Regions from separate parts of the Homo sapiens genome. Here region 1 is linked to region 2. The links are contacts of gene promoters, found by promoter capture Hi-C in blood cells and fetal thymus (Javierre and others, 2016). All regions are on one chromosome and are shown on one strand. Each heading gives the region's core, a stretch centred on a gene start or on the middle of the fragment in contact. The rest is flanking DNA. Distances are from core to core; before and after follow the strand shown.

Region 1 (4,991 bases), core at 1,157-3,656, 560 kb after region 2:
TCTACAATAACGTATAAAAAATACTTGTACTAGATATAGCTGTTTCTGTGTTAATAACTACAAAAATTAGCCGTATTTGGAAAATTTATTGCTGTATAGTAAAATTTCAGTGGCAAAGCCAGATTTATAAGTCTTAAAATCAATTTTCCAGTTTTATTCACCCAACAGATGCAGCCACTGAAATGATGCATGGTATCATTCTTTGAAAATCATATATTTAGAAGTTACACTCAAATTGATTATGTCAAATTCCAGTTTCCCTTCTACTTCAATATTTAAAAGTCTTTTTTAAAAAAAAAGAAAAGATAAAACACCATCTTGCTGGATTTTCTGTGTTTTCATAGACATGTCATTTTATTTATCCCTCCAAACTTACGTATATTTCTAATCTTTTTTTTTTTTTTTGAGGCAGACTTTTGCTCTTGTTGCCCAGGCTCGAGTGCAATGACACGATCTTGGCTCACTGCAACCTCTGACTCCCGGGTTCAAGCGATTCTCCTGCTTCAGCCTCCCAAGTAGCTGGGATTATAGGCGCCCACCACCACGCCCAGCTAATTTTTTGTATTTTTATTAGAGATGGGGTTTCACTATATTGGCCAGGCTGCTCTCAAACTCCTGACCTCAGGTGATCTGCCCGTCTCAGCCTCCCAAAGTGCTGGGATTACAGGCATGAGCCACTGCGCCTGGCCTATTTCTAATATTTTACATTAATTGTATACCGACTGCAAGAAATATAATTAAAACATGTTTTTCACTAGAAAGAACATTTGATTGTAAGAGTCAATAGAATTTGATTTCATTCTCTATTGTGTCACTGAAAACTGTTTGTCATTAACCAAACCAGGTAGCATCCCCGTATCTCAGTTTTCTCAGCAGTAAAGGTTGGGGTTTTGAGCTAGGCAGCTGGATGATATTTGTTACCTTTAAATTGCAATGGAAGTTTTTGTTTGCAAATGATGTTTCAGTGTATTTTCTCATGTAAAATTAATTTTTGATTTATCTTTTATCTGTCTATAAGGCAGAAATAGATTTTTTAAGGAAATGGTCTTTTTAAAATATCATATAATTTTACTAACCATAGCAAGTTAATGATAAAATCTCAGTGGGCTATGTCAGTCAATGCTTCTCATACATTAATGTGCTTACAAATCACATAGGGATCTTGTTAAGATGCAGATTCTTGTTCAGTAGCTTTAGGTGTGTCCCTAGATTTTGCATGTCTAACAAGCTCCGAGATGATGCTGATCCTGCTGGTCTAGGTCACTAGGAAGTGCCTAGACAACACGTTTATGGATATTTGACTGGTAATTTGTGTTTAGAATATTGCAACAGTTAATTTCCCTTTAGATTTATGTTTACATAATCTGATGTGTTTCGTCTGAGCATCTTTTTATTGATTTGCTTGCTTGCTCTCCCGTCTTTCTTTTGGACAAAAGCTATTTAGTTTAACAGTTGTGGTCTGGGCAATATACAGATTTGAGGATAGTGATTTCAGGAAAGATTATATATTTCAAAGTTTCATAGTACACAAATTTTCTCTGACCTATATAAAAAGTGTTTGAATTTTCAGTTGCCTCTATACCAAACCCTTCATCTTGGGAGAAGAGTTACGCAGTATTCAGTGATGGTCTGTAAGTATGTGTGTATTAGCTATAGTCATTTAGCTGACATAGTTGGAACTAGAACTCAGGTTTCTAGATTCCTTATATTGTTTTTCCTGACCAAATAATACCTACTTTTTTCTGGGAACCTTCGCATAGGAAAGCACTGAGGATTTTTTCCTAGACCTGTGGTTCTTAAAAGTGTAGTATCCAGACAGGCAGCATCAGCATCACCTGGGAACTTGCTAGAAATGCAAATTATTGGGTCCAACCCTAGACCTGTGGAATCTAAGGTGGTGGGACCTTTGGTGATAGGGCTAGATGCATATTGAAGTTTAGGAGCCACTGCTGTAGATTGTAACTTCAGGCCTCCTCCCAGCGTCACGGAATGCTGTCCTGATCCCTAGCATTTACTCACATGCTGTGCTTAGTGCTTGACCATGTGGTGGCAGATTCTGTGATGTGTAAGACGTGGTTGCCACCCTTAGAGATTCTGGAGTCTAGAAGCCAAGGAGGCATTATTCTCTGACTCTGATAAAGCTTTATTGACTTGAGTCATTTTACCTTTCCATTTCTTGTTCCTTTGTAATGGGGAATCAAATTATATATGTTAAAAAGAAAAAAAAAGTATAGGTTTTTCCTCTGTTTAGAAGTAGTACATATGTGTGTATCTAGACAGATACATATAAATGTGTGTGAAACACACATATATAAACAGATATATTTCTATATTTAATGTCTACATTATGTGTGTATGTGTGTTCATGTATGTATACACACAGACACATACATGATTAGATAAGTGTCCTATTATTCAGTGCTTCAAGTAAAGGAGATCTCACAGTCTATCTTATAAAGCATGTCATAGTTTAACACAGGGTTCATCACGGAATTGTTAAAAACTTTTTTCTCAGCTCTTCATTAATGAGTTTGTCTGTTTTTTATTCTGGTTCAGTGTATTTGACAGTAGGATCTTATTACCTATTTGCATGATTCCTTCATCAACTACATTATCATTATCTTTAACGTTAGATTCTTTTCAAACTGCATTGTGCATAAGAATTACCTAGAAAGCTTTTTAAAATGCAAATTTGGAGGCATGCCCCTGCTGATAACAAGGAAGTTCTGTGTAAAACCCAAGAATCAGTATTTTAACAAGCATGTTACGGAGTCTGAGGCAGTGATTTAGCCTAGCCTTGATTATGCCCTGAACAAGTTAATTTTTGTTTCTTTGCCTTCAGAATGACAAATGCAAACATACAAAATTTAAAGAAGTCTATGAATATTTTTGCTTGTGTTATAGTGGTGTACATTCAGCCTAAGCAGTTTCTTAGATTGTTTGATACAGAAACATACAGTTAGATGGAAAATGAAAATAATAAGGTTTTTTTTTTAATCCCCAAATTTCCTCCAGACTACCAGTGGTCTGGAAAGGCAATGCAACATTTCAGAGCACACAGAGAATGAAATTATAAGGGTGACCCTTATGAACTGAAAAAATGGTAGATGCAAACGAAGAGATTTGAAACATGCTAACAATGATTAGGATTTTTGTGTGCAGTTGGACCCACTCTTCCACTATTAGGGAAACAGTATAGCGAAGCGAAGGGAAGCTCAAAGTGAATAACAGGATGCAAACAGGGGGTGTGTAAATTCCTGCGGAAAGAACAATATAAACGAGTAATCATACAATCTTGTTAGAAAGGAAACTCAAGTTTTACTGTAACAATAGATATTTTTCCAAGAAAATACATCTATTTATTGCAAGTTTAAATAATCCAACTTGGATGGATCTTCTTAAAGTTTGGAACCATGACTATACTGCTGCTGCTGTCTGAAAAGCAACACTATAAAGTTTTAAGTACTACATTAATATTTATCCATTTCTAATTAATTAAAACATATTGAAATATAACTTTAAAATACTTGAACAAGGCTTAGCAATTTTTCAGTTATAAAGTCGAAAATAGTTTCTTTGACATGATTTAAGCATTACATTTAAATATATTATCTCTGAGATGGAGGGTATTTTAAAAATTTAAATAACAATGGTTACAATCAATAATAGTTTATTAATAGAGACTAGGATTTGGGTGGTTACAATCTAATCTTTGAAACTGGTTGATGTGAAGAGAAAGGATTGTTTCCTCCTATATCATGTCTCTCAAAATTGTTAAACAGTGTACACTGGGCTTGTTGATCAATCTAATCAGCATTGTAATGTTTCATTCCTAATTTCAGCATATCTTTAATACAATTTTTAATGAGATTTCCTTACTATTTTTTGAAATGCCCATTATTATGTAAATATTTTGTTCAAATTATTCTGTTTTTATACAGCTGCCCCAAAATTGAGAATTCGGGAATGACTACTTTTGTTTTCTGTTTACATACAAACACCTAATGAGCCTGACAAAATGGAGCTTAGGGATCCGAGTTTCTGATTTCAAAGTCTTGCATTTGCAGCTGTCATAGGGAATAGTAGTATTCTAGTTATTTTTAAAACAAGGTAATGTTAGGGAAAATCTAAGTCTTGAATCATTATACATGCTTAAAATAATCACCATTTTATAAAATGTAGAATTATTTACATGTTAAAATATTTTCATTCATTAAGCCTAAAAATGCTGTGGGAAGAGAGGATAATAGTTATATTATGTGATGATCTAACATTTATTTGACCCCATTGTTTATCATGGATCTTTCTTGACTTTATTTTAAATTAAAAATTACAAGTGCTCTGTTCTTGGTCTTCCTTTTGCAGATGCTTTAACAGTTCATTCCCAGTTCATTAGGTTTTCCAAAGAGAGCTATTGTGTTTATTCATCTTCAGCTTGTGCATTTCTCTGAATTTCAGTTGTTTTGGTATCTCTCTAGATCAGAACATTATTCTTGAAAAACAAGTATACGTACATGTGTATATGCAAAGAACAAGCTTGAACAAGCAGTAAAAATGAAGTAATGCACTTCTAAGTGTTGATGTTTTATAAAATCTAATAGATTTGTATGTCTGCTTTTTCATTCATGAGAATTCTATAATTTCATCTGCTTTGTTGTAATTTTAAAATTTCTGTGTGTCAAGTAATTTACCAAAGTTTCAGTATGATAGTATCATAGCAAATGTTATTTCTTAATTCTAGGACTATCCAAAGTAGGTTTGTTTGCATAACAGTTTAGCACATTTGAAATCACCAAATAAAGTATTTGTTGAATTTGATTTACCCATGGCATTATCCATCTTAAATGGTGATTTAACTGTTATCTTTTTTCCTAATTCACATTTTAAAACATGAAACTCTAATTACAATATTCATGATAACTTTCATAGCTAAAACTATATAAACCTAGGTTCTTTTAAAATTTTAATTTATGGAACCCCTGCAGATTTAA
Region 2 (4,697 bases), core at 1,722-4,221:
TGCAGTCATTCTGTAGCTGGGGCTCTGGATTATAAACTGTCACATAGTCCAGGTAGGGGCAGTAGAAGATGGTTAAATAGTCATTTAGTTTCTCCTTATCCCTCTCAAAGGTAGTTTCTCCCTTCCACAGCCAGTCTATAAGAGATGAAAGTGACTATGAGTTTTTTTCCCCCTCTAATAATGTCTCATCACTTCTTGGATTTTAGTTCCTCTAGTGCCTTTAGCCCCTCAGTTCTTCGATAGTTTTTTGTTGTAAGTATGATTTGGTAGCTTATCTAGCTTGTTTTTACTTACTTTGAGACAGGGTCTTGGTCTGCACCCAGGCTGGAGTGCTGTGGCGCCATCATAGCTGACTGCAGCCTTGATCTCCTGGGCTCCAGCAATCCTTCCCCCTCAGGCTCCTGAGTAGCTGGGATAGCTGGGATTACAGGTATGCACCACCACACCCAGCTAATATTTTCAATTTTTAGTAGAGATGGGGTCTCACTATGTTGTCCAGACTGCTTGTTCTTATTAGGGTGGGAACAAATGGTCTTTTGAAAATTTCTATATCCAAATCAGGAGAAATTGCAACATGTCCATTTGTTTTCCTATTTTCAGACATTGTTTTGTTTCCTCTATCAAAAGCCGTATCTCCTATCAGACAACTCTCCTACAACTATAGCTCTTGCCTGGCTTCTGTAACTGTTCCCTTAAATCACCCCCTTAGTCTTAGGGGTAATTAGAACTTCCTGCTCTTACTATCTCTGAGCTGCCTCATCATGCTTTGTTGGTTTCCTTTTCTTTTTGAGACAGAATTTCACTCTGTCACCCAGGCTGGAGAGCAGTGGCGCGATCTTGGCTCACTGCAACCTCCACCTCCTGGGTTCAAGTGATTCTCCTGCCTCAGCCTCCCAAGTAGCTGGGATTACAGGTGCCCGCTACCACGCCTGGCTAATTTTTGTAGTTTTAGTAGAGACGGGGTTTCACCATGTTGGTCAGTCTGGTCTCAAACTCCTGACCTCAGGTGATCCACTACCCTCGGCCTCCCAAAGTGCTGGGATTACAGGTGTGAGCCACCGCACCCAGCCGGTTTCCTTTAACTTTGTCCACACTTTTGAAAATAGTCCCTTTTTGAAATTCTTCTCAGTTATGCTATTTGAACGAGTCATCTCCTTTTTGCTGGGACCCTGACTGATAGGTGGTACTTCTCTGGGAAAACAAAGTGATTCAGCCTATAGGGAGATAGTGAAGATATTATGCAGAAGCCAAAGAGAGAGTTGCAATAGTTGGTTGAGTGATAGTTGAAGTGGTACTAATGTTGGTGACACCCAGGAATGGGAAGAGAATGAATAGATTTCCCTGCCAATGCCTCATCTTTTGTAAACCTCTGGCTATTAAAAAGGAAAGTTGAGCATCATCAAAGCATTGTTTGTGTTTGAGGATCATTTTCCAGGTTAGTTTTTGAAATATTTCTAGCTGTATATAAAAGGTTAATGTGGAATAGAAAGCCTAACAAATTAATGAGGTCTTGTTGGTATGGTGGGGTCAGGGGAGGGAAGGAGAGGCTGGAAGAGGGAGCAGAGAATTCTAAGAAGACGAATTATTTTAATCAGCTGCAATGTTTAATTTAATTTAATACAATTTAGCATTTGCAATTACATAATTTACTCCGTATGAACCTTTAGGTTAGATATAGTATTGTAAACTTGCAAATCTCTTTATAAAACCTTTTTCTTTGGTAGAAACTACTATGAAGTAAATAAACCTTTATTGCCTTCGCTTAGTGCCTGGAACACAGTAGGCCTTTACAAAATGTCAGATCTATGAATACTAGCTGACATTTATTGAGGCCTTCCCCTGTGCCAGCCACTATGCAAAAAGTGCTTGACATACTTCTAAAATCTCAATTTATAGGTGAGGAATTAAGGATACAAGATGCATTTCTATAGTAGAGAAGCAGTAAACTGATAATGAATTAATTGAGGTGAAGTCTGAGTTATTTGAAGATTTTCAGTTATTTTTGTGAAAAAATAAGTTTATTGAAATTCACGACCAGAACACAAAAATAATCTCTCTTGATTTTCTTTTTAAAATTTTTTAAAAAACTTTTGTTGACACGTAGCAGATGTATATATTTACGGGGTACATGAGATGTTTTGATACAGGCATGCAATGTGAAATAAGCACATCACGGAGAATAGGGTATCCATCCTCTGAAACATTTATCCTTTGAGTTACAAACAATCCAATTACATTCTTTAAGTTATTTTAAAATACACAATTAAGTTCTTATTAACGATTGTCACTTTATTGTGCTATCAAATAGTAGGTCTTATTCATTCTTTCTATTTTTTTGGACCTATTAACCATCCCCACCTTCTCCCGCTCTTGATTTTCCTTTGCATGCATGTATTCATAAAGTTTATTAGTATTTTGCAAATCTTTGTAGGATAAGTCTGACCTGTCCAGGTCACAATTATAGGGCACATATCTTATTTTCTGAGAGAAGCAGGGATTTTATTTTATTTTTTATTGTTTCACTTATTTTCTCCCTTTCATTTGCCTCTACTTCGTTCTCTTTTAAATCTTTCACATGTTTTCATTCATTACTTGCTTCCTGCCTTCCTTCCCTCAAACAAGGCCAGGTGCTTAGTTTTGAAATCTCATTCAAAATGGTGCCACGTCATCTGCCAGGGCCAAGAATCCAGAGGTGCTGTCATATTTCTCCTTGCCAGCGTGGATCTCCTCCGAGCCCCGCCCTCCCTCCTCACCTGCTCCTGGGGAAACTACACCAAGGCCGCCGCTCTGGCCTGGGGCTCCCTCCCACACGGCCTTGGCCCTCTCCCCCTCGCCCCGGGACCGCTCCGCCCCTCCCGGATCCCGGTCGGCGGAGCGCATTTATTTGCATATTTCTACCTTTGTTCCCTGCCAGCGGCCAATCAGCGCGCGGGGCGAGACGAAGGGGCTGGGCGGGGCTCGGGCTCCTGCTCCGGCTCAGCTGCGGCGGCCGCAGGTTCCAAAGCGGGTCCGAGCCGCCGCCGCGCGCGCGCCGCGCACTGCAGCCCCAGGCCCCGGCCCCCCACCCACGTCTGCGTTGCTGCCCCGCCTGGGCCAGGCCCCAAAGGCAAGGACAAAGCAGCTGTCAGGGAACCTCCGCCGGAGTCGAATTTACGTGCAGCTGCCGGCAACCACAGGTTCCAAGATGGTTTGCGGGGGCTTCGCGTGTTCCAAGAACTGCCTGTGCGCCCTCAACCTGCTTTACACCGTGAGTATCCCCAGTCCGTTCCTGCTCGCTTGGGGGCTTTGCACCTGCTTGGGAGCTCTTTGGCTTCCCTGCCTGGTCAGCGACTCACTCGTTGCATCCCGCGCCCCCTTCCCGGCTTCCCACGTCTGCGCGCCCCCGGCCTCACCATCCGTCCCCGCCGGGGACCGGGCGCCGGCGCTTGTCGCAGTCTCTTCCTTTCGTTCATTGTGAAGCCGCGGTCTCTCAGGCTCGCTGGCCGCGTCTCTGCCACATTGCTCCACCCCGCCCCCTCACCCACCGCCTTGTTTTTCAAACATTCAACCGGACCTCTCCGCTTTCCCACCCCGTACCCTTCTGCCGCTCGCTCCTGACATCCAGACGCATCTGGGCCAGGCGTGGAGGCGCGAGAGCCGTCAGGGCTTGCGGACAGTTTTGCGGAATGGCGTGGCCTGAAACTGACGAGGCGGCATATGGCTGGTGTGCCTCTGGGTTAGCTCTTGGTACCCTCGGGATTTTAATTGAGGCCACTGAGTAGGTTCACAGGATGTCCGCTGCTTCCGAAGTTTGTTTCGTGCTCACAGTAAAGGGATGTCTTTTTGTTTTTGTTGTTGTCAGTTTTGCTAGTACTTGGTGCTTTTTCTGTGTGTCTTGTCCATGATCAATATCCTAACTCCATTTTAAACCAAGTCCTCCAGGAAATAAGCGAGCCCCCACCCAAGTCGTTTCTTTCCCTGCCAACCAGCTTGGGCCTCTTAGTTTTAACGCTGCAGGCTCTCTTTGTGATTTTTTGAGGCGCAATTCTGGGTGAACAGGAGGATGGGCAGGACAGATCGACATTTATTGAATGCCTATCACGTCCCAGGTTTTACATACACAATGCTCGTTCATCATTCTGACAACCTTCTGAGGGAATGGGGCATTATCTGCATTTTATACATAAGGTAACAGACCAAAAAGGTTTTAGTAAGTTTACATAGCTGGTAGTTGACGAGTCAGGAGTGGAACCTAGGCTGTGGAATCCAGATCTTTCCACAGGCTGTCTCTACCGGGCGGAAGAAACTTCCTCTTCTGTCATCATCCCTCCATAGTAGTCTTGCTCCCTTCTATAAATATACCTGGCGCTTTGCAGCACCCACCCTGAAAACAAACCCAGCACCCCTGCATTAGCAGAGAGCTAGGCCATCTGTGCAAGCTTAGATTACCTCCTTGGAATAGAGAGGCTGCCTTGTGGTCACCAACAGGAGAAGGAGGTTGGGTCATTTTACCTTTACTGTTCCTTTGTATGTGAACATGACTGCAAGCTTTGAAGGCAAGACAGAAACAGGCATTGAGTACGCTTTTATGGCTAGTTAGTAAGAATCTGGTCAACATGGTCATTAATAGTAGACTTGGGAAAAAAATTTTAGAACACCTGGTGATACAGTTCCTTGGAGATACATGTCAAGTTTCAGATCAAAATTCATCTGTATCA

What was found. Contacts are between HindIII fragments. The CHiCAGO score rates a contact against its expected background, and 5 or more counts as called.
Region 1: a contact is called between a fragment that was not itself captured here and the fragment with the promoter of TSPAN13 in region 2, in 1 of 17 cell types (naive B cells). The highest score is 5.5, in naive B cells.

What each region holds. Positions count from the first base shown.
Region 1 is chr7:17,310,147-17,315,137 of GRCh38, forward strand. All of the region lies in intron 2 of AHR (aryl hydrocarbon receptor), which reads left to right. Among named protein-coding and RNA genes, the nearest start is that of AHR, 14 kb to the left of the region's middle. The HindIII fragment of the contact is 534 bases long and covers 2,140-2,673 here.
Region 2 is chr7:16,750,784-16,755,480 of GRCh38, forward strand. It overlaps TSPAN13 (tetraspanin 13), which reads left to right and starts at 2,972. Exons shown (of 6, transcript NM_014399.4): 1 at 2,972-3,247. The coding sequence starts at 3,185. The HindIII fragment of the contact is 13,671 bases long and covers 1-4,416 here.